7 separate regions of the Homo sapiens genome follow, and all the other regions are linked to region 5. Evidence: promoter capture Hi-C in 16 types of primary human blood cells and fetal thymus (Javierre and others, 2016). All regions are on one chromosome and are shown on one strand. The core of a region is centred on a gene start or on the middle of the fragment in contact, and the rest is flanking DNA. Distances in the headings are between cores, read along the strand shown. Region 1 overlaps ADK (adenosine kinase). Region 2 overlaps ADK (adenosine kinase). Region 3 overlaps ADK (adenosine kinase). Region 4 overlaps AP3M1 (adaptor related protein complex 3 subunit mu 1). Region 5 holds the start of KAT6B (lysine acetyltransferase 6B). Region 6 overlaps ADK (adenosine kinase). Region 7 overlaps ADK (adenosine kinase).

Region 1 (3,577 bases), core at 662-3,161, 600 kb after region 5:
AAGTTTTTCGTAGAGATGGGGTCTCACTATGTTTCCCAGGCTGGTCTTGTACTGCTGGCCTCAAGCAATCCTTCCACCTCAGCCTCTCAAAGTGTTGGGATTACACATGTGAACCACCATGCCAGGCCACTCTTTATTTATTAATATCAAGATAATTAGAGCTATCACTGTACTCTCTTATTGGTACTCTTATAGAATTAGGGTTAATTTTCAAAGAGCAGGTCAATGTGATGGTGCCAACACATTTTTACAATTTTATAATTAATCAAGCTTTAACAGACTGAAATTAAGAAGTTGTAATAATGTTTTATGAGAATAAAGCATGGAATTACTGATTAGATAAAATTTTGTTTTATATCCATATCTCTTATATTGTTTAAAGCTTAGTCTTGAACACAAAAAGATTTTTTTGTTTTTAATACAGCAGGTGAGTTGTTATACACTCCTTAGCAGACTCTGACTTCCATGACCACCACCCTACCAAGATTTTGGCTATTTGAGTTGCAAAGACACAAATGAGATTATTTATAAACAGCTTTCATAATTCATGAAATTCATTAATTCAATAACTGTTTTAATTTTTTAAAATTAATACTCTGCTTTTATGGTGCCATATTCAACTGAAAGTTTTCTTTGGTATGTAGGTCAAAAACTACAAGGAAGAGAGCCAGCAGCCAAAAATATCAAGACCATCAATAATGACAAATCAAACAAGTGGCAATACTTAGCAATAATAGAACAAATAAACAACAGAATGTTAATCTGCAAAAATGAAAAGGAATTAACTGATATATGCAACAACACTGATGAATTTCAAAAACACAGGGAGTGACAGAAGCCTTATACAAAATAGGACATATATATGACTCAGTTTATAAGAAATTTTAGAACAGGTGAAACTAAAAAAAAAAAACTTTGAAATATAAAACTCTAGTTAATGGTATATGTGTTGAAATATTTAGAGAGAAGCATATTGATGTCTACAATTTACTTCGAAATGCATCCAAAAAACAGATGAAGTAATGCACGAACAGAAGAATAAATAGATAAAACAAGTGCAGTAATATGTTAATGATAAAACCTTGGTGGTAAATATATGGGTGAACACATAACATATGTTTAAAACTTTTCGTAATAAAATGTAGGGGCTGGGCACGGTGGCTCAAGCCTGTGATAATCCCAGCACTTTGGGAGGCTGAGGTGGGTGGATCGCTTGAGGTCAGGAATTCAAGACCAGCCTGGCCAACATGGCGAAACCCCATCTCTACTAAAATATAAAAATTAGCTGGGCATGGTGGCGGGTGCCTGTAATCCCTGCTACTCAGGACGCTGAGGCAGGAGAATCGCTTGAACCCAGGAAGCAGAGGTTGCAGTGAGCCAAGATCATGCCACCACACTCCAGCCTAGGTGACGGAGCAAGAGTCTGTCTCAAAAAAACAAAAAAAAAGGTAAGAAAAAAGTATCAGTTCGCCAAGTTATACCCATAGAGATGAATTATATCTTGGACAGTTAAAAAAACTTTCAAATGAATTAAAACATTAAAATGGGTTACATATTAAATAACATATTCTTTAAAAGCAGATTTCTGGTATTTTTAATATTGGTCATAGTCTAAGGACTAAAGGAACTTTTAAGGCTCACCAACTACTTAATTCCCAAAGCAAAAGAAGCTCTGTTACCAGACCTATAAATAATAACCAACCAATGCTACAGTAACAATCACCGGCCCTCACTGACTATACTAGGAAATAAAGAAAGAGCAAAAAAATTTCTTGACAATATATATATTTGAGAACCCACTATGGAGATTATACTCAAATAAGGATAGGCCAAATATAAAAATACTGATGAAAGGTTAGCATAATAGTGGAATGTGTAAACGGTAAGAACGCATAAGAAAATCCTTTCCCTGAACATTGGTCCTGCCATTTTATAATTAACAATTTATGTTACCTTAAATAGGAGAGAAGAAAATAATTTACAAAAGGTTCAAGACAGTTTTTAAAAAGCAGTTTAAAAGTACTTGGAAAAAAATTATTACTTAATCTCAAGAAGAAAATAATAGTCTTGAAGTCCTCTACGAAAAAAAATTACTGTCCCTATAAATGAGTACAAGTGAAGGTTACATTAAACTAAACCAAGAGCGACCTGAGTTAGATGTGAAAATAAAATGTCTTCAGCCAGGCATAGTGGCTCACACCTGTAATCCCAGCACTTTGGGAGGCCAAGGCAGGCAGATCACCTGAGGTCAGGAGTCTGAGACCAGCCTGGCCAACATGGCAAAACCCCATCTCTACTTAAAATACAAAATTTAGCCAGGCATGGTGGCGGGCACCTGTAATCCCAGCTACCTGGGAGGCTAAGGCAGGGGAATTGCTTGAACCCAGGAATGAGAGGTTGCAATGAGCCGAGATTGCGCCTCCAGCCTGGGCAGCAGAACAAGACTCTGTTTCAAAAAAATAAAAATAAAATAAAGTGTTTTACCTTGTACCAAACAATTGACATTTACTTTTGCATAAACCAGTGACAGAAACAAAATTATATTTGTCTATCATTACCATGAAGGTGGGTGATCCACCGGAGTAAGACCCAAAAATTAAGAGTGACAATTTATTTTTATTTTTTACTTTTTTCTGGTAGAGCAGTCAGAAAGAAAATAGGAACAATTTAATATTTTATCTGGAAAGAGAAAATAGCATGACATATTTCCCAGTAAGACTTTAGTCTAGATGATGGAATACAACACTACATCTTTTAATGTGAATACAGGAGAAATTATGTCCTGTGTAAACTTTATGTAGTGTAAATTATATAGTGTAGGTTATCATAATTGTTAGGATTAAGGTCATAGTGTTAATTATACTTTGTCATTATATAATTTTGAAAATCAGATAATTTACATATACATATATCAAGTTCATAGACAGAGTAAACTATTTACAACCAATGGTTTAATGCACTTACAGTTCCTTGTGTTTGTCTTCAGCCAAGATTTGGTCATTTGGTTTCAGAGAATACCTGTATAACAGAAACGAAAATTACACTCTTCATACACACACAGTGTCAACGTAAGTTAGCTGACCTCTTCAAAACAAGCACTCCAACACTGTTATAGGTCTCTGACTTAATTGATAAAACACCAAGAATGCCCAAGTAGACGGTTTTTTGCTGTTCTATTAGTCATTTCCAGGAACACCACTCCAGGAACTGAAAGGAGATCACCTTAACAATGCTTTGAAGATCTTCAATATTCTTCTGTAGTGAATCATCTGTAATGTCACACTTATTCAGCAGTTCAAAACTGATGGAACAACTACAACGTTAAGTATTTTGGACTTCACAAATAATATGTAAATCATTCATTAAATATATAGTAATCATATACTGTGAACCAGGCTATGTACTAAGTAGCATGACACAGGAGGGAAAGAAAAGCTTTGGAGGGTTTGTGTGTTTTTTGTTTGTTTGTTTATTTGTTGAGATAGAGTCTCACTCTGTCACCAAGGCTGGAGTGCAGTGGCACGATCTTGACTCAGTGCAACCTGTTCAAGCGATTCTCCTGTCTCAGCCTCCCCAG
Region 2 (3,315 bases), core at 347-2,846, 650 kb after region 5:
TTGAAATGTGGCTGATGGGACTGAAGAACTTAATTTTTAATTTATTTAATTTTAATTCATTTAAATTTTATAACTGAAGCAATATATTTTTCCACTAAACACAATTGTATTGTTTTAGTTGGACTACATTTCACTTTTTTTTTTTTTTTGAGCTGGAGTCTTGTTCTGTCGCCCAGGTTGGAGTGCAGTGGTGCGATCTCCAACCTCTGCCTCCTGGGTTCAAGCGATTCTTGTGCCTCAGGCTCCCGAGTAGCTGGGACTACAGGCATGCGCCACCGTACCTGGCTAAATTTTTTTGTATTTTTGGTAGAAACGGAGTTTCACCATGTTGGCCAGGCTGGTCTCAAACTCCTGGCCTCAAGCGATCTGCCCGCCTCAGCCTTCCAGGCGTGAGCCAACACTCCTGGCCTCTTTTTTACCTTTTTTAATGTGGCTACTAGAAAATTTAAAATTACAGGAATCTTGCATTATATTTCTACAGAACAGTGCTGCTCTAGTCTAAGTTAGCTTTACCTATCACTGTCCCTGTGATAGAATAATTAAGTTCACAAAATGAAATTAGTAAGGAAGCCAGTTTATACAAATCTGTTTTCTTGCTAGCCATAAAACACATCAAATATTCCAGAAGATTTCAAGTTTCTTTAGAAAATGCTATTTTTAGCACTGTTCTCTTTAACCTGGGAAATGCCTATCCAGAATGAAGCCATGGTCTATAAAACTGATGTGTTCAGTCCATGAGTAAAAGCTGTTAAAACACTGAGCTATACTTGGCGTGGTTAAGACTTTGACCGAAGGTCCACAAGCAGAATTAGTCAATTGTTCCTCTGGATTAAACAGGATCTGAAGCAAAGCAGCAGCTGGATTAGCAATTCACAGTGGTGGAGACACTGGCTAGAGTTACCCACCTTCTCTTGTGGAAAATGTTGATAGATAATCCACATTTCACACCATCAGTGCTTTTCAAACTTTAACATGCATACAAATCTCGTGGATCTTGTTAAAATGCAGGTTTGGCACTGCAGGTATCAGTGACCAAAATTTTGCATTTCTTTATGTTCCCAGGTCTCACTAATTGCTTCTGGTCTGTGGGCCAGGCTGAGTAGCAAGCCTGTAAAGGTAGCAAAAGGTATCTGGTTTGCAACTTCTGCTTGACTTCCTATTACCTGTATGACTTTAAGCTGGTTCTTTTTTTTTTTTTTTTTTTTTTTTTGAGATGGAGTCTCAGTCTATCACCCAGGCTGGAGTGCAGTAGCATGATCTCGGTTCACTGCAACCTCCGCCCCCATCCCCGGGGTTCAAGCAATTCTCCCACCTCAGCCTCCCGAGTAGCTGGGACTAAAGGCACGCACCACCATGCCTAGCTAATTTTTTTTTCGTGTTTTTAGTAGAGACAAGGTTTCACCGTGTTGGCCAGGCTGGGCTTGAACTCCTGACCTCAAGTGATCCGCCCACCTCAGCCTCCCAAAATGCTGGGAATACAGGCATGAGCCACCACACCCAGCCTTTAAACTGGTTCTTAAACTGTCTGTCCCTCGGTTTACCCATTATATGCTGTTCAGGGCACTGTGAAGATTAAAATTTAATTAACTATAGTAAAGAGTCTAATAGAATCCTTGGCACATGGCATAATTATTACTTTGTTATTATCATAATAGTTAAACTTACATCTCTGGAGGCATGATCCCAAAGCTAACATGAACTTGGCCCTCTGAACAATCAAATGCACTTTTGCTCATGCTTAACATACTTTGGTAACACCTACCTTTGATTTGTAACATTAAAATTTTCAAATTAAAGCCAGGCACAGTGGCTCACGCCTGTAATCCCAGCACTTTGGGAGGCTGAGGCAGGAGGACCACAAGGTCAGGAGTTCGAGACCAGCCTGGCCAATATGGTGAAACCCCATCTTTACTAAAAATACAAGAATTAGTTGGGCGCGGTGGCACACACCTATAGTCCCAGCTACTTGGGAGGCTGAGGCAGGAGAATCACTTGAACCTGGGAGGCAGAGGTTGCAGTGAGCTGAGATTGCTCCACTGCACTCCAGCCTGGGCAACAAGAGCAAGACTCCATCTCAAAAGAAAAAAAAAAAGAAAGAAAAAGAAAAAAAATTTTCAATTTGAAAAAACCTAGCCGGGCGCAGTGGCTCACACCTGTAATCCCAGCACTTTGGGAGGCCAAGGCGGGTGGATCACGAGGTCAGGAGATCGAGACCATCCTGGCTAACACAGTGAAACCCCATCTCTACTAAAAATTAAAAAAAAAATTAGCCGGGCGTGGTGGCGGGTGCCTGTAGTCCCAGCCACTTGGGAGGCTGAGGCAGGAGAATGGTGTGAACCCAAGGTGGAGCTTGCAGTGAGCAGAGATCATGCCACTGCACTCCAGCCTAGGTGACAGAGCAAGACTCCATCTCAAAAAAAAAGAAAAAAAAAAAACTAATTTTGATACCAAAACAGGTAGTCTTAAAACTTTATTTTTTAACAAATATACTAAATTCAGTATAATTAAGGGAAGATATGGGTCTGCAATATTAAAATAGTTAATAAAATTGAAGCCACACCAAAGATATTTTTTAACTCATTTTTGATATTTGCATCTAACCGTTTTTTTTTTTTTTTTGACATGGAGTCCCACTCTGTCACCAAGCTGGAGGGCAGTGGTGCACTCTTGGCTCACTGCAACCTCTGCCTCCCGGGTTCAAGCAATCCCCTAGGCGTGCGCCACCAGGCCTGGCAAATTTTTTGTATTTTAGTAGAGATGGGGTTTCACCATGTTGGCCAGGATGGTCTTGATATCCTGACCTCGTGATCCGCTTTTTTTTTTTTTTTTTTTTTGAGATGGAGTTTCACTCTTGTTGCCCAGGCTGGGGTGCAATGGCGCGATCTCGGCTCACTGCAACCTCTGCCTCCCAGGTTCAAGTAATTCTCCTGCCTCAACCTCCCTAGCAGCTGGGATTATAGGCATGTGCCACCATACCCGGCTGATTTTGTATTTTTAATAAGAGATGGGGTTTCTCCATGTTGGTCAGGCTGGTCTCAAACTCCCAACCTCAGGTGATCCGCCCACCTCGGCCTCCCAAAATGCTGGGATTACAGGTGAGCCACCGCGCCCAGCCAATCAGCTGTCTAGCCAGGTGCAATGGCTCACACCTGTAATCCCAGCACTGAGGGAGACCAAGGCAGGAAGACCACTTGAGCCTAGGGGTTCAAAACCAGCTTGGGCAACATAGGGAGACCACACACCTGTAGTCCGAGCTACCTGGGAGGCTCAGATGGAAGGATGGCTTGAGCCCAAGAGTTCAAGGCTACAGCAAGC
Region 3 (3,283 bases), core at 352-2,851, 520 kb after region 5:
AACTTCAAAAAATGTCACTCATCAGAAATACTCAAACACCTAAAATCTCTTATCAAAACATAATATATGGAACTTCCGATTCTGGGTAGCATATACTGCATCACAGCCAACATTCCTACTGATGACACCTAGGAAGGCCATATAAATCATAAGTCACATTGTTAATGGTACCAAAGAGCTCTGAAGCAACAAGGACAAAGTGGATAAATTTCCGGAGAGGTGAGACCTGTTCACAGGGGCAGGCCAGAACTGGCAGCTTTTTGTTCCACCTGCCAACATTTGCAGCCAGAAGCATGAAGACAGAGAAACAAAATTTGACATTTCCCAAACCTAAAACACACAGCTAGTTTGCCCCAAAACACATTTGCTGAATTCTGAAACTGAATGCTAAGTTAAAGAGGTTAACCAAAATAGTTCCAAAAGCAGAAAGTTCTCTGACTCTAGCTGTGCTTACAAAGACAGAACAAGAAAAGAGCAACTAAAAACATAATAGGCAAGAAATGAAAGCCCTAGAAGGAGTGGAGAATAAAAATAAGGATCCGTGGCACATTTCCACTGGGGTTTGGGGGGAAGGATATACTTATACTGGTTACATGTGGAACCTGAAAATTCACACTTTGTGCTTAGCAGAAGATAATGATAAGGAAGGGGGCAATAGGGGGAAAACAGTAGGGATTTTAGCAATTACATAAGGCTGAAGTAGTAACATTGGAAACTGAAAACCTAAAACAAAAGATCATTTTCCCCTTTGACATAATTGCCAAATTTTGAAGGCAGAAAGAAATTAAGCTAGAAACCTCTGCATTAACCTGGAAACCTCTGAGGTCAGTTTGGTACCCTCATTCTGGTGGACTGTTTCAGAGCGGAGACCACTGGTATCAATTAAAAGTCCTAGAGGTTCAGGCTCTAGGAACAGAAGCAAACAGGCTCAACTGAACTGTCAACACTGAAAAATCAACTTTGACCTAGCTTAACCCTTAATTTTTATTAAGGTAATAAGCTCTCCCCTCACTCCGTATCAGCCTCATACAGAAAAGAGTGAACACTCTGGTAGAAGATACAATCTGAATAATCTACAATTTGCATATAAAGTGTTGGTAAATAATAATAAACAAAGTTATAATAAGAGGTAAAATAATTTGACTAAAACACAAGAAAGAAAAAAGCAAGAGAAGAGTATCTGCCTACTACTTAGACCCAGACATGGTTACAGTCACAGGAAGTATGTGCAGAGCTGAGAAAATAAAGCCCCAGTTCTCTGGCTGGATTACCAAGGCGGAGAGCTCCAGGGAACCACAAACTACTAGGACTCTTCAGACAGCTAGAAAAAGTGAAAAGACTCAGCAAAGAAACAGAAGATAAAGAAGATAAAATAAAAATATTAGAATTTAAAAATTCAATAACTAGAAATTTAAAACTAACTAGATGGGCTTAATAGTAAAATGAAGAAGACTGTTAATCAGTATACTTAAAAATAAATCAATAAAAATTTTCCAATCTGCAGGACAGAAAAAGGATTTTTTTAAAAAATGAAAAAAGACTCAGACCTATAGGACAATACTAAAAGATCTAAATTTGTGCATGAGTAACAGAAGAAAAGAAGTGCGGTGCAGAAAAAAAAAAATTGAAAAAATAATGGCTTGACCAGGCATGGTGGCTCACAACTATAATCTCAGCATTTTGGGAGGCCAAAGCAGGAGGACTGCTTGAACCCACGAGTTTGAAACCAGCCTGGGCAACATAGTGAGACCCTACTTCTACAAAAAAATAAAAATAGCCAGGCATAGTGATGCATGCCTGTAGTCCCAGCTACTCAGGAGGTTGAGGCAGGACGATCACTTCAGTCCAAGAGTTTGATGCTGTAGTGAACTGAGATTGTGCCACTGCACTGCAGCCTGAACCACAAAGCAAGAACCTGCTTCTAAAAAAGGAAAAGGAAAGGAAAGAAAGAAAAAAAAATGGCTTAAAAATTTCCAAATTTGATTAATGACATACTCTTAACAGATTCAAGCTCAGAAACTCCACACAGGATAAGCAAACACAAAATCCACACTCATACACAAGAGAAGAACACAGAGAGTGGAACCAAGGGATATACCAAAATTTAAGTGGAGAAGGTGCCAGCAAACAGGGATGGAAACAGCCACCTGTCAGAAAAAAGAGCTAAGGGAGGGGTGAAGCTGTGGGGGTAAGGGAGGAAGAAAGGAGAGGAGCAAGGAGGGAAGGGGATAGGTCCAACATGGCCAAGTTCCTCACTACAGACATATAAGATCAATTTGATATCAATATATGATTTCCTATAGTAGAGTCATCAGGGTAGGCAACATTCCTCAATGGTTAGAAGCAAACGCTCTGTCAGACGGACCTGGCTTTAATTCTATATTCATCTAATTATATGACATGGGGCAAGTACGGCTGGCCCTCCATATCCGTATGTTCCACATCCATGGATTCAACCAACCACAGATTGAAAATATTTGGAAAAATATGTACTGAACATGTAAAGAGTGTTTTTCCTTGACATTATTCCCTAAACAAGAGAGTATAACAACTACTTACACAGCATTTACATTATATTAGGTATTATAAGTAATCTAGAAATTAAAGTACATGGGAGGATATGCATATGTTATATACAAATACCACAGAATTTTATATCAGGGACTTGAGAATCCTTGGATTTTGGTATCTGAGGAAGTTCCCGGAACCAATCCCCCATGAATACCAAAGGACAACTGTAATTTAAGTTCTCCGAGATTAGGTTTCCTCATTTGTAAAACACAGCATTAAAGACTATTTCTTTTTGTGTTCCACGATATTTAAGCATAGTGCCTGATGAATAATGGGTACACAGAAAAAAAAATTGATGAATGAATGGTTGAATGGACACACTAAAGAAAGATTAAATAAGAATTGCTGCTGCTATTGTTCTTGGATTTTTAAGAACATGCACACTACCAACCTATACAAATTTTAACAAAACTAGATTTCCCTTGAATATTTTTAAAATAATTAAACATTGATTTGGTTTGTGCTTGTATCCCTGTTACAAGCACAATTTTATCCATTGTAAAAAAGAATTTCTATTCTCTGATGAAATTATTTATCTTGTATCCCTGTCACCTACTGCTTTTTAGAGAAATTCCACTCTAAGTCATAAATTTTCGATTAACACAGATATGTTACCCAGCAAGAAAAAACAAAATCAAATTTCTAAACAAGTGAGATGAAATAAGGTGTTTATACTTGCTTCCCTTGAGTGTGTGCGTGTATAATGCACTAT
Region 4 (3,266 bases), core at 543-3,042, 690 kb after region 5:
AATGATTGTTTTAGTTCTTATTGTATATCATGTTGATTGATTTTTGTATGTTGAACCAGCCTTGCATTCTTAGAATAAATCCCACTTGGTCAAGGTGTATAATCTTTTTGTGTATGTTAAATGATATTTAATGTATAATAAATTTAAACCTTTCTTTGCCCCAACAGAAAATGATCCACAGTCTATTTCTCATAAACTGTTCCGGTGACATATTTCTAGAGAAGCACTGGAAGAGCGTTGTGAGCCAGTCTGTCTGTGATTATTTCTTTGAAGCTCAAGAGAAAGCTGCTGATGTTGAAAATGTACCACCTGTCATTTCAACACCTCACCACTACCTCATCAGTATCTACCGGGATAAGCTCTTCTTTGTATCTGTCATACAGACCGAAGTGCCACCTCTCTTTGTAATTGAGTTCCTACATCGAGTTGCTGACACTTTTCAGGTTGGTTATCTATCATACCTTTCTAAGTTAAATGACCCAAGTTAGCTGAAGGTGAGACATGATTATATTATTTAATTACCCAGGTTTTGATGTTTACTGTCTGTCTCTCTCTGTTTAAGCGTAAATTCATAAGCCCTTTTCTGTGTGGTATACAGTTACACACATGGCTGCTCTATTCACTATTTTTTATATGTATTACAGATTACAGTTGGCTCTCCATATACATGGGTTCTGCATCCATAAAGTCACCCAACCTTACATGGCAAATATTTGAACAAAAAAATCGAACTGAACATGTACAAACTTCTTCTCATTATTACTTGAACAATACAGTATAACAAATAGTTACATAGCATTTACACTGTGTTAGATATTACAAGTAATCTAGAGGTGATTTAAAGTATATAGGAGGATGTGTATAAGTTATGTGCAAATACTATGCCATTTTATGTCAGCGACTTGAGAATTGTGAACTTTGGTATCTACAGGGGATCCTGGAACTAATTCCCACAAATACCAAGGGATGACTGTATATCATCAGGAAACAATAATGCCCTCCGCATACAGTTCTCTCAATGGTCTCAAGATTTTCATTGGTTATGAACTCTTCTATATTTACATTTTATTATTTTGTCTTGCGGAATATACCAAATAATTTAAGCTTATCTATATGTATTTTGGGATAATCAGGGTGAATGAAGTTTATAGCTCAAATTCCAATTTAATGTTTCAATACTTTCTGGTATAATATGTAATAGGAATTAAATTCAACCTAGAAATATCAAGAAAATATTGAGGAATAATATTAGGACTATAGAGGGGTTTTTTTTGTTTGCTTGTTTTGTTTTGTTTTGTTTTGTTTTGTTTGAGACGGAGTCTCACTCTGTTCCCTAGGCTGGAGTGCAGTAGCATGATCTTGGCTCACCGCAACCTCCGCCTCCCGGGTTCAAGCAATCCTCCCGCCTCAGCCTCCCAAGTAGCTGGGACCACAGGTGTGCACCATCACACTCAGCTAATTTTTGTATTTTTAGTAGAGACAGGGTTTCACCATGTTGGCCAGGCTGGTCTTGAATTCCTGACCTCAAGTGATGCATCCGCCTCAGCCTCCCAAATTGCTGGGATTACAGGCATGGGCCACCATGCCCGGACTATAGAGGGTTTTTTCCCCCGCTCTGTTTTATATATGTTCAGCAGCTTAAGCAATGAATTATGCTACTCTAAGTTTATTCTTCAGAACAAAAAGTATTTAGCAGGCCTTTCTTTTTGCCTTCCATTGTGTGATATTTTGTGTGTATTTTGTCAGGACTACTTTGGTGAGTGTTCAGAGGCTGCAATTAAGGATAATGTGGTCATAGTATATGAACTCTTAGAAGAAATGTTAGACAATGGATTTCCACTGGCTACCGAATCTAACATTTTGAAAGAATTGATTAAACCACCAACAATTCTACGCTCTGTTGTCAACTCTATTACAGGTAAGATGAAAACATACTGTGCTAGTAACTGAGCAATTAAAACTTTGTAAACAACTCATTATTGCTCATGATCTGACATATTATTAAGGTAGTACAATTTGGCCATAATTAAAGTTACTGGTAAAGTTAAAATGGATGTACTATATATTTATTTTCATGGAAAGAGGCTAGACCTTAAGTGATAAAGAACTTTTGGTTATTACTCTTTTTTTTTTTCTAAAACACCACAACAATATTATTACCATTATTTAACACTAAATACTAAGACTGAATAAATTGTTCCAGTTATTCCTAAAGAAGCCAGTATATGAGCCCACTTAGAAGAGAATTTAGTCCATTTATAGACTGGCATTTTAATATTTAAAATAGCATTACATAACTGGTATGCTGCTACTCCACAATTACTAGAGAATAGAAAATTTAAGACGCTTAACCACACAGTACTACAATCTCCTCCAAGTCTTTGTTTTTATGCATTCAGAAGATGTATTAAGAAAAAATAGGAAATAGTTTACTTATGAGATCTCATGCATTGTGGGCCTGTACTTGTGTTGTAAGCTTCCAGCTGGGTTTAATTCTTGAGTGTAGCTAGAAATTAGGCACATCCAGATACCAATATTCTTTCGAAAGCATTAAAGTCTTTTAGACAAAGATTCCTATGAAATGTTATATGCCACTCCAACTCCACTGTCAACCATTGTAAACCCCTGTCCAGTGCCTTGACCTAAAAATGAGGTGAGAGAGGCCTATAAGAAAAAGATCATTCAGCAGCTCTTTATTCATCCTTTGTGTAAGGACGAATGTTAGGAGAAATTCAAAGAAAGATAAGATGGTGTGTCTGTACTCCTAAAACTTATACTCTGAATGGGACATTGGAAAAAAAATTAAGTAAATAACTGTATAAGACTTTAAAAAGCAATTCCATACTTCACAGATAAAGTAATAGCATTGGAAAATAAATACACATGATGTAACGTTAAATTGAAAAGTCAGCACAAAACTGAAAAAAATTATTCTTATATATAAATATTCACTCCGACAAAAAAGTATTTACAATGATTATACCCAGCTAAATACAGATTATATTTATTTTTGCTTTATACTTTCTAATTTTCCAAAATAAACATGTATTTTATAGTCAGAGAAAAGTTACTAAAATATATAATGCAAAACATAACAGATTCATTAGATAGTGTATTACAAAGTTCAAGAGAATGGTTCCATTAATGAAGTAATCCCTCCTGAACTGTGGTGGGTGGCCACCTTGGAAAATCAGTAGAATTCAGGAAGTGAGGAAGGAATAAGAGCATTCTCCATGGTGGAACTGTATGAGAAAAAAACACACATG
Region 5 (3,324 bases), core at 49-2,548:
CTTGAGGCCAGGAGTTCGAGACCAGCCTGGGCAACATAGTGAGACCCTTTTCTCATTTTTATAAAAAATAATAAATACAGCCTATCAAACAACTTGTCTCCCAAACTAACACCTTTCTCTGCCCCATCCTCACCCCTGGCACAGTCCACCAAATCACATTCACCGAAAATTACTGTACAGCTCCACCCACTTTCTTCACACCTGCCGCCTTGTCCCACCCCTACCAATCCCTTGTCCCCAGGAGATTTTCTGCCACAGATTTTGCAAGTTCTAAGCAGCCTCTCTCCCCTTCCTTCATATTTAAGTTTGCTCTGCTGTCTTAGCATCATCTTTCAGAAACTCTCCCAAGCACAACCATCCCATCCTTCCACGTTTTTAAAAAATACTTCATACCCCAAAGCTAGCAAACCTCCTTCTTATTCCAACATGCGATCCACCCAGATACCTCTTTCCCATCACTGCAATCGTACCTGCTCCTCACATGCGCCTCAATGCCTCCCCAAACCCCTCAACGCCTCCCCAAACCCAACACTCTGCACCGCTTCAACTCTACTCCACATCCACCACACCCAAACCCACCTACTCTGCGCCCAGACAACTGCAATCTCGCCTTCGGTATCATCTCACCTGCCCTCACACACCCCTCGGTCCGCCTTCCACTTCTCTCAAATTGCATCCCTCCCTAACTCTCCCTCTGCACCTGCTTCTACACCTTCAGCTTCTCCTCCCACCCAACCCTCACTAGTCTTCCTCACACCCTCGCCGGCCCCCCACCGCTCCTACCAGTTCACTCCCACTCAGAAATTCCCTCTCAGCCCCCGCCTTCCGACTCCCCGAACCCCGCCCCCACCCGATCCCGCCCCGCCCCCCTCCGCCCTCGAGCCCCGCCCCCTTGCCCTAGAGCCCTGCCGAGGGGCGGGGCCTGTCCCTCCTCCCCTTTCCCCCGCCCCCTACCGTCACGCTCAGGGGCAGCCTGACCCCGAGCGGCCCCGCGGTGACCCTCGCGCAGAGGCCTGTGGGAGGGGCGTCGCAAGCCCCTGAATCCCCCCCCGTCTGTTCCCCCCTCCCGCCCAGTCTCCTCCCCCTGGGAACGCGCGGGGTGGGTGACAGACCTGGCTGCGCGCCACCGCCACCGCGCCTGCCGGGGGCGCTGCCGCTGCCTGAGAAACTGCGGCTGCCGCCTGGAGGAGGTGCCGTCGCCTCCGCCACCGCTGCCGCCGCCGCCAGGGGTAGGAGCTAAGCCGCCGCCATTTTGTGTCCCCCTGTTGTTGTCGTTGACATGAATCCGACATGACACTGATTACAGCCCAATGGAGTCTCATTAAACCCGAGTCGCGGTCCCGCCCCGCCGCTGCTCCATTGGAGGAGACCAAAGACACTTAAGGCCACCCGTTGGCCTACGGGTCTGTCTGTCACCCACTCACTAACCACTCTGCAGCCCATTGGGGCAGGTTCCTGCCGGTCATCTCGCTTCCACATAAACACACCCCTCGACCCATCATCCCCCCCTCCGGCACCACCCCGGGGGAGGGTCCACTGCCAATACCAATCAACAGACCGCTGGGTCCGCCTCTTCCGGGCACCTATTGGTCCAGCCCTTTTTCTCTCTCCTAGATACCGCGCCACCTCTACTTCCACCTACCCGCCCCCTCCACCTCTAGGAAAGGATTGGGTCTACTCGCAGCAGAGGAGCGTAGCCTTATTGGCTGCAGACGACGCCAATCAGGAGGCCTTTTCCCTCTCCCCTCCCCCACTCAACCCCAAACCCCCTAGCCCGCAGCTAAAGTTTGTGTGAGAGCTGATCGCTGGCGGCGGCCGCAGGATTTAGGGGTGGGCGCGGGCGGGCGCGCGCGGGCGGGCACGCGAAGTTAAAATTCGAGGTTCTCAGTCGCCAGCTCCTTCGGTGGAGTGTGCGGACGGGCGCGCCGCCCGGAGCGTTCCATCCCGCCCCCTCCTCCACCCTCTCTCCCGTCCCGTCCCGTCCCGGGCGACTACTCGCCCGCCCCCTGGCTCGCATCCTTCCCCCCCCAACACACCCCTACCCTGCCAGCCCCAGGCCGGGTGCAGGCAGAACGATGTCGCTGCAGCCTCCTCGCCATCCCATGCCTCGGGGGAGCAAGCCCCTACCCACCGGGCGTGCACCCCCCGGCTCCACACTCGCCCGTGTCTGCAAGCACGTGCACCGCTCGCCGCTGCCTCCGGCCACCCGGGTCCCCGGCTAACCTCGCCTGCAGCCCGGCCAATCGCTCGCTGCCCTTTGTTGCTGCAGCCTGGGTCTCCCCGCTGCCTTCCTCAGCCTCCGCCTCGTCCTTTGCCAGCCGCCCGGGTCCGCAGCGCCGCGCTCCCCCCGCCCGGGACCCACCGCCGCCGCCTCCTTCTCCTCCTCCGCCTCCTCCTCCTCGGCTCCGGGCTGCAGCGCACAGAGCCCGAGGCAGCGCCGCCCAGCCCCGCTCCCCCCGCGCCGCCCGCCAGCCCGCCCGGCCTGGCCGGGGGCGCAGCCCGGACCCCGCCCGCCCCAGTCTCCGCCCCGGGGGTACCTGCCTCCGCCCCGGGGGGCTCCTCTCGCCGCCCTCGGGGGAGGGCGGAGACGCTGGTGTCCGCGGGAGGATGGGGACGCCTGGGCCGTTTGGGGCGGGGAGTGTGCCCGCCAGGGCTGGGACTGAGGTGCGGTCCTCGCCAACGCGTCCCCACTCCCGTCGCTGTGGGCCCCAAACTTCGTCCTTCGCCCAGGCTTTGCGCCTTCGGGCGATCGCGGCAGTTTTGGGGTGGGGGACGCCTCGGGAGCTGTGTCTACCCTGATCGGGAGGAAGAGGGAGCAGTGACATTCAGCGACTGCGGACAGGGCACGGCGGCGGCATCCTTGTGTGGGAGTGGGGATGTCAGACGCGGGCTGGAGGGGGAAGCTGCCCCCCAGGATGCTCTCTCCCTGCCTGCGAGGAGCTGGCGAGCTCAGCCGCGTTCTGGGTGCTTTCTTGGGCGGTGCAGGCGGATGGCAGAGGGGCTGAGGCGGGAGGGGGGCGGGGAAGACCGCTGGGGGGCCCTTCCCCCCCTCTCTTTTAGCCAGCGCTGTAAGGAAGGCTGATGGCGAAGTTCGGTTTTCCAGGCTTCCCCTGGGCCCCCCGAGTTCCTGAGGCCCACTTGAGGGAGACTGGGGGCTCCTCTGGCCGCCCAGGCGAGGCCACTCTGACGCTGCCCACATGCCTCCCAGAGCTCTCTGGACTCTGAAGAGAGCGCCCCTGGTTCTTTCCGGAGGTGAATGGGATGCTGGCAAGGGAGACTTCAGAAAATAGGAAAGGTGGGCTGAGAAATGGCTCCTAGAGAGTT
Region 6 (3,339 bases), core at 118-2,617, 580 kb after region 5:
ATAATGAAGTATTCAATGGGCATGATAATGAAGTTTCCTCTGTTTTAATCCCTAATCTGAAGTAACCTGATATTAACCAGTCTTTCTATTGTCCTGTCTCCCCATCCAGACCTTACAAGAGAATTCACTTTGAAATGACCAATCTGCTTTCTTCAGCCCTTTCTGTCTATAAAACCAACCATCTGCTCAACTCATTAGAACACACACTCTACTTTATGGAATGAAGTATTGCCTGATTCTAGAATCACAATAAAGCTGACTGAGATCTTTAAACTAAATTTGTTGTAACTTTGTCTTTTGACAGAACTGCTAGAGTTTCATATAACTTGTACATTCAATCAGTATGGCATGGTATGCAACCTCTAGAAAACTCCACCTATGCTCATGAGAGAATGAGAATGAAAAGGGTAAACACAGTCTTAGTATTACTTTGAATATAGTTCTGCCCTCACAGAACTTCTGTCAAGGTCTTAAGGACCCCTGACCCCCCCCTCCCACAAGAGGCCCTTGAATCACAATCTGAGAACTCCTGGACCAGACAATCTCTAATACTGATGCAGGCTGACAATAATATTTTGATTTTTTTTAACCTGAATATACACTTATCCTCATCATGACAGAATGCATCATAACTGTGATATGAGATTCCAATGAGATGATCCTTTTAAACCCAACTATAAAAAGTCATTTCAGAAAAGCATAAGATAAAAAACTGTAGAACAGAGACCAGGTGCAGTAGCTTATGCCTGTAATCCCACTTTGGGAGGCTGAGGTGAGTGGATCACCTGAGGTCAGGAGTTCAAGACCAGCCTGACCAATATGGTGAAACCCCATCTCTACTAAAATTACAAAAATTAGCCAGGCGTGATGGTGCATGCCTGTAATCCCAGCTACTAAGAAGGCTGACACAGGAGAATTGCTTGAACCTGGGAGGCAGACATTGCAGTGAGCTGAAATTCTGCCACTGCACTCCACCCTGGGTGACAGAGTAAGACTCTGTCTCAAAAAAAAAAAAAACAAAAACAAAAACTATGGAATGAGGAATACTTGTTGTCACTAATACTAATATCAATACTTGGCATGACAAAACTATTCATTTATATAAAAAATATATAGGGTCATCTACTACATGTAAAGTATTGTGATAAGTGGAATGAGAGAAAGCATGAAGAACTTTATGTTTTTGTAGGAGGGATCTGATTTATATTCCAAAACTATAATCCAAAGTTAAAAAAGACAAATGCTATGAAACAAGTTCAAATAAAGCATTATAGTAGGTCCTAATCTTAAGGGTATGTATGAGGATTATGTTAATATAATTAGTAAAATATTCATTCAAAAACAGTACAGGAATACAATAAAATCTACTATATATATTTACTGGCCTATAGAGAGATGCTTCATTCTGTTACCAATAATTGAACATTAAATTGAAAGTTATACATGTACCCTTCCAGAAGAAAAATTCAAATGCAAGATTTAAAAGCAAGTTTAATCTCTAATTTCACACATGCCAATAAAATCACTGACAATGATGACTTTGGCAAATACTTATAACAAGCATCTACATGACTTTTATGGTTCAATCTCATGACCAGAGAAGAATACAGAGTGATAATAAAATCAGCGGGAAAAAGACTACATTAAAATCCTAGAAACACTTTTAAGAGCTGGCTAAATCTTTCCAGCTTTACTGAAAAGTGTATTTCATTAGCTAACTAACCATTTTGACTCTAATGGATCGTCATTCAATGGCTGCATCTAAGTGAACACTGTACCACATAGTTTGCCCTCTTCCTAATACAAAAATTAATTTAGAAGAGTCATCTCTTTCCTTTGTAAAAATAGTGAATTCAAGCCTAAGTTTCTGGGTAATAATTACAAACACATAAAAAAATCAAAATGTTTCCCTTAATTTGTAAATCACAATGTAACTCAAATGAGATAGTAATATTGTTTACTTAACAATATAAAGAAATCTTGAAACAAATTTTGGTAACACATATCTAATAAATAATTTCATTTTTCATGCATATACAGCTATGAAGTTAATAAAATTTGCATATAGGTCAACTTTTCAAAAAATCTACTTAACATTTAGACTAAATAAAAGGTTATCTGGCATATTAACTCTGGGAATTCATCTTTACCTTTATCAAGATAAACATACAGTACTAAACACAAGTTTAGAATATTTGAATGCTTCCTTCCACTGAGCTCATCTACACCCAAAATACAATGCCCAAATATTCTAGATCTTCCATACACTTTTTTGAAGTTCTATATTCATTTTTCCTACTTATTGTCGCAGATAAAACAGGCGAAATAGCACCATCTGGTGGGCATCACTTTCGTTTTAAAATAATTTTCTAAATTTACCTTATGAATACTTCTTTGAAAAAACTGCATAACAATTCTAAATCATTTATAAAGTACTATAAATAGTGAAGTAGCTTGGTTACCAAGAAAAATATATTTGAATATTGAACCAAGGTTGCAACATTGCTTTGGTTTTTAATTATTGAGAAGTTAAACATTATTGTAACAATGTAATTATTGTAAAGCTGAAATCTCCTCAGAGCTTAACCTTGTGGTGGTATTAGTTTTTTTTTAAGGTGTCGATTTTTAATACAAAAAAATTTACATTCTTTATATACAGGTAATACATCTATACAGTTCAATGGAGAGAATGAAATGTGAACATAATCTTCAAAAAAGATAGTGTGGTCTTTATTTATGTTTAAAAAAAATTTTTTTTGAGACGTAATCTCACTCAGGCTGGAATGCAGTGTGGCGTGATGGCTCACTGCAACCTCTGACTCCTGGGTTCAAGCGATTTCCGTGCCTCAGAGTCCCAAGTAGCTGGGACCACAAGTGTGCACCACCATGCCCAGCTAACTTTTGTATTGTTAGTAGAGACGGGATTTCACCATATTGCCCAGGCTGGTCTCGAACTCCTGGCCTCAACCTCCCAAAGTGCTGGGATTACAGGCAGGAGCCACTGCGCCCAGCCTTAAAATGTGATTTATTTCGATGTGTCTAAATAAGCAACTGAAATTAGTCCTGAGTACTAACAGTGTGCTGAATAATGGTCAAAATATAAATTAGGCCACAATTTTATGAACTAAAACAGACACATAATACCTATGGAAAGGAATATAAACAAACTGAAAACAAAATCAGAAGAAATAAGATGATGTTACTTAATTTGGTACATTTCATATCAGTGATGCAGGATTTTTCTTGGTCCCTTCATTGGACTTGCAACAAGGGCGACAGTTTACTCACGCCACAGCGCTCAACCCCCTGCAGGAGGGAGCATGTTAGCAAGAGAGTGCA
Region 7 (3,573 bases), core at 437-2,936, 630 kb after region 5:
ATTTCTCAGCTAAGTTGAAACATTGGAAGTTACTAATAAAGCGGAAACAGCAGAGCTTCATATCCTCTGAATTATATCCTGCACGTTCTCTTGTCTTCTCTAATCATCTTTCTTCTCCCATTATAGCTTCTGAGAGGAAACCAGACTGGGCACATTCGGGGTAGAATGTCTGTAGATTATGATACCATTATAGACGTAGCTCACTGACAGTAGTTTAAAAGTTGGGGAATTAAATAATTAGGTAAATTATATAAACTTTTCTCCTTCCAAATAATAAGCAAAAAAGTTTTAAGTAAAAATAGCAATGTATATAAGTTTTCCCAAGGAAAACTGTACTCAGTTATTCAATAGTTAATGATAGCACACTTGCTATCACCAAACTTAAATTTCCTGAGTTTTCCTTTAATTGAAGACATTCGGTGGTAAATTCACTTCTAAAGTTTTCATCCATTCTTCTTCAAATGTAAGTTCCACATAGTGCATATGAAGAGTTTAATACTTACTTATCAAGGAAATCTTTGTCCACTACAGCAGAGATGTCAAGCAGAGGATTTCCCATTCCAAAGAGAATATTTTCTCTAAAAAAACACAAAACACAAGTTAGAAATACTTCTAAAAGTAAGTTGATATGTAAAAGGTACACAAAATAAAAATAACTATCTTCATTTCAACCTGAAAATAAACCTAACACACCAGTTTATTAAACATTTGATTTGCCTATTATACGTAGAACATTTTAGAGGTAGCATAAAGACATTTAGAAAAAAAGATGATTATCAGAGAAAGATGCAAATCAAAACTACAATGAGACACCATCTCACACCAATGAGAATACCTATTTTTTTTTTTTTTTTTTGGACACGGAGTTTCGCTCTTGTCGCCCAGGCCGGAGTGCAATGGTGCAATCTCAGCTCACTGCAACCTCCACCTCCCAGGTTCAAGTGATTCTCCTGCCTCAGCCTCCTGAGTAGCTGGGATTAAAGGTGCCTGCCACCATGCCTGGCTAATTTTTGTATTTTTAGTAGAGATGGGGTTTCACCATGTTGGCCAGGCTGGTCTCGAACTCCTGACCTCAGCACATCCACCTGCCTTAGCCTCCCAAAATGCTGGGATTACAGGTGTGAGCCACTGTGCCCAGCCCAGAATAACTATTACTAAAGAGTCAAAAAAAAAAAAAAAAAAAAACAGATGGTGTCAAGGTTGCAGAGAAAAGGTAATACTTATAAACTGCTGATGGGAATGCAAATTAGGTTAGCCCCTGTGAAAAGAAGTTTAAAGATCTCTCAAAAAACTTAAAATATAATTACCATCCGACCCAGCAATCTCATTATGGGTATATACCCAAAGAAAAATGAATCATTCTAGGCTGGGCACGGTGGTTCACACCTGTAATCCCAGCACTTTGGGAGGCCGAGGTGGGTGGATCATGAGGTCAGCAGATCAAGACCATCCTGACCAACAAGGTGAAACCCCATCTGTATAAAAAATACAAAAATTAGCCAGGTGTAGTGGCGAGCACCTGTAGTCCCAGCTACTCAGGAGGCTGATGCAGGAGAATCACTTGAACCCAGGAGGTGGAGGTTGCAGTGAGTCGAGATCGTGCCACTGCGCTCCAGCCTGGGCGACAGAGCGAGACTCTGCCTAAAAAATAAAAAAAATGAAAAAAAATGAATCATTCTACCAAAAAGGGATATGTTTATTACAGCACTCTTCACAATAGCAAAGACATGGAATCAACTTAGGTGCCCATCAATGGTAGAATGGATAAAGAAAATTCAATACATATACACCATGGAATACTATGCAGCCATAAAAAAAGAACGAAATCATGTCCTTTACAGCAATATGGATGCAGCTGAATTATCCTAAGTGAATTAACATAGAAACAGAAAGCCAAATATCACATGTTTTCACTTATAAGTGGAAGCTAAACACTGGGTACGCAGAGACACAAAGATGTCGGGACAAAAGACACTGGAGATTCCAAAATCAGGGAGGGAGACAGGAAAGCAAGGGCTCAAAAACTACCTATTGGTTACTATGTTCACTACTTAGACGATGGGGATCATTACAAAACCAAACTTCAGTATCATATGATATACCCATGTAACAAACCTGCACATGCACTCCCCTGAATGTTATTAGGGAGCCCGTGGCACATCCTGGAAGAGTACAAGCAAGAGCCCTATCTACCCTTCACAAAAAAATGACTGTGGTAGGGTCTTCACAATGGATATCAGAAGTGATATAATTCTCTTATTATGTATCCAAAAAATTTAAATATATGCTAACTTTTTATAGAACGATTTGTAACTTTTACAAATTTAAATGCACATCTTTTCATCTAAAAATGTCTAGCTAAAACTTTTATTCATGTCTTATGTTTCCTATACTTCTTATATTCATGTCTTCTCATACATATACTTGTATGTTATATATATAAGGATTCATTTCAGATGCCTATAACATGAAATAAAGCAAAACAAAAACAAACAAATCAACAAGAAACGATATAATTTTAAATTATATTTAACAGACTTGGAGGAAGTCTGTTTTCCATAAGAGATCACAGTATGGTTCCAATCCAAATAAAAGAAAGAACTCCACCACAAGTGATGCCTTAAACAGAAGCTCATCTAGCAGCAAGAAATGGGCCAGTGAATACTGTTGGATCAGTCTCAATAAGAGACATTCATCTAGTTTATCCAAAAAGATTTGTTTCTGTGTAATTTTTTATTGGTCTCCAGTTTACTGATGATTCCCCCTCCCTTTCAGTTGCCTCCAAACCAGTTACCATTCTCACCATTTGGCAACTATCAGTAATATCAATGGACTAACATGCCAATATTTCTTTAAGAGAATGAGGTACAGCCTATAATTATAATCTGTAATGATTTTTAGAAGATAAAATTACAGTCTCTTATTAACACCATAGATTGAGCAACTATGGCTGAATATGCAATAAAGAGATATTTGTCCCTTTTCTATTTAAAGAAAGCTGAGTGGAGGAGGGAAAGATAATACACTTACTTATTCACACTTAAATTGCATATGTGATCAAAGCAAGTCTAATAAAAAAGTATTTTAAGTGCTTAGAAGGTGAAGGATCAACAGACAAATACAGTAAAATCTAACCATGATTTCACTGGGACTACTCTGCCTGATTTATATATTCTTATTCAAACAAAAACTCCTAGAACTTGTTATTTAAAAAACAAAACAAAACAAAAAAACAAGGATGAGCAGTGTTATTGGGCTACTTGGTTTTTTATTTTCCTTCACCCTTTTTATCACCGTTTGTAAGCATCCAGTTCAATGTATACAGTCATATAACCACAAAACTATGGAACATTTTCATCACAATAACAACAAAAAAGTATCCTCCTGCCCCCACATCAATCCCTCTACCCTCAATTGGTCCCCTCTCAGTTTTAAGGAATATAATTGTTACACCTCTTTTTAAGAAGTCAAACCTTTGAACATCTACCGCATTCCCAAAAGAGTTTATTATACTCCGTTTAAAAACTCAGTAAAGACAGTCTTACAGAGAGGCCAATAATTGATTCTAAGAAT

The links. The method cuts DNA at HindIII sites, captures the fragments that hold promoters and counts their contacts. A CHiCAGO score of 5 or more calls a contact.
Region 1: a contact is called between a fragment that was not itself captured here and the fragment with the promoter of KAT6B in region 5, in 5 of 17 cell types (naive CD8 T cells, total CD4 T cells, naive CD4 T cells and 2 more). The highest score is 5.7, in naive CD8 T cells.
Region 2: a fragment that was not itself captured here is called in contact with the fragment with the promoter of KAT6B in region 5 in 1 of 17 cell types (neutrophils); the score reaches 7.4 in neutrophils.
Region 3: a fragment that was not itself captured here is called in contact with the fragment with the promoter of KAT6B in region 5 in 1 of 17 cell types (total CD4 T cells); the score reaches 5.6 in total CD4 T cells.
Region 4: a fragment that was not itself captured here is called in contact with the fragment with the promoter of KAT6B in region 5 in 1 of 17 cell types (neutrophils); the score reaches 5.4 in neutrophils.
Region 6: a contact is called between a fragment that was not itself captured here and the fragment with the promoter of KAT6B in region 5, in 5 of 17 cell types (fetal thymus, megakaryocytes, total CD4 T cells and 2 more). The highest score is 7.5, in fetal thymus.
Region 7: a fragment that was not itself captured here is called in contact with the fragment with the promoter of KAT6B in region 5 in 2 of 17 cell types (non-activated CD4 T cells and neutrophils); the score reaches 5.2 in non-activated CD4 T cells.

Annotation. Positions count from the first base shown.
Region 1 is chr10:74,223,979-74,227,555 of GRCh38, reverse strand. ADK (adenosine kinase) reads right to left here. Exons shown (of 11, transcript NM_006721.4): 3 at 2,965-3,018. Among named protein-coding and RNA genes, the nearest start is that of ADK, 75 kb to the right of the region's middle. The HindIII fragment of the contact is 3,053 bases long and covers 385-3,437 here.
Region 2 is chr10:74,172,209-74,175,523 of GRCh38, reverse strand. The region is part of intron 1 of ADK (adenosine kinase); the gene reads right to left. Among named protein-coding and RNA genes, the nearest start is that of ADK, 23 kb to the right of the region's middle. The HindIII fragment of the contact is 9,334 bases long and covers 1-3,315 here.
Region 3 is chr10:74,304,384-74,307,666 of GRCh38, reverse strand. The region is part of intron 3 of ADK (adenosine kinase); the gene reads right to left. Among named protein-coding and RNA genes, the nearest start is that of ADK, 150 kb to the right of the region's middle. The HindIII fragment of the contact is 4,855 bases long and covers 1-3,283 here.
Region 4 is chr10:74,135,284-74,138,549 of GRCh38, reverse strand. AP3M1 (adaptor related protein complex 3 subunit mu 1) reads left to right here. Exons shown (of 9, transcript NM_012095.6): 2 at 168-443; 3 at 1,747-1,918. The coding sequence starts at 171. Among named protein-coding and RNA genes, the nearest start is that of AP3M1, 14 kb to the left of the region's middle. The HindIII fragment of the contact is 1,372 bases long and covers 1,107-2,478 here.
Region 5 is chr10:74,824,574-74,827,897 of GRCh38, reverse strand. It overlaps KAT6B (lysine acetyltransferase 6B), which reads right to left and starts at 1,298. Exons shown (of 18, transcript NM_012330.4): 1 at 1,113-1,298. RefSeq lists silencers at 833-1,232, 1,923-2,122, 2,233-2,332, 2,443-2,612, 3,123-3,172 and enhancers at 1,448-2,219, 2,220-2,991. The HindIII fragment of the contact is 8,590 bases long and covers 1-3,324 here.
Region 6 is chr10:74,243,273-74,246,611 of GRCh38, reverse strand. All of the region lies in intron 3 of ADK (adenosine kinase), which reads right to left. LOC124902456 (a long non-coding RNA gene) reads right to left here. Exons shown (of 2, transcript XR_007062198.1): 2 at 1-3,339. Among named protein-coding and RNA genes, the nearest start is that of ADK, 94 kb to the right of the region's middle. The HindIII fragment of the contact is 5,243 bases long and covers 1-3,339 here.
Region 7 is chr10:74,197,769-74,201,341 of GRCh38, reverse strand. ADK (adenosine kinase) reads right to left here. Exons shown (of 11, transcript NM_006721.4): 2 at 504-578. Among named protein-coding and RNA genes, the nearest start is that of ADK, 48 kb to the right of the region's middle. The HindIII fragment of the contact is 5,555 bases long and covers 1-3,573 here.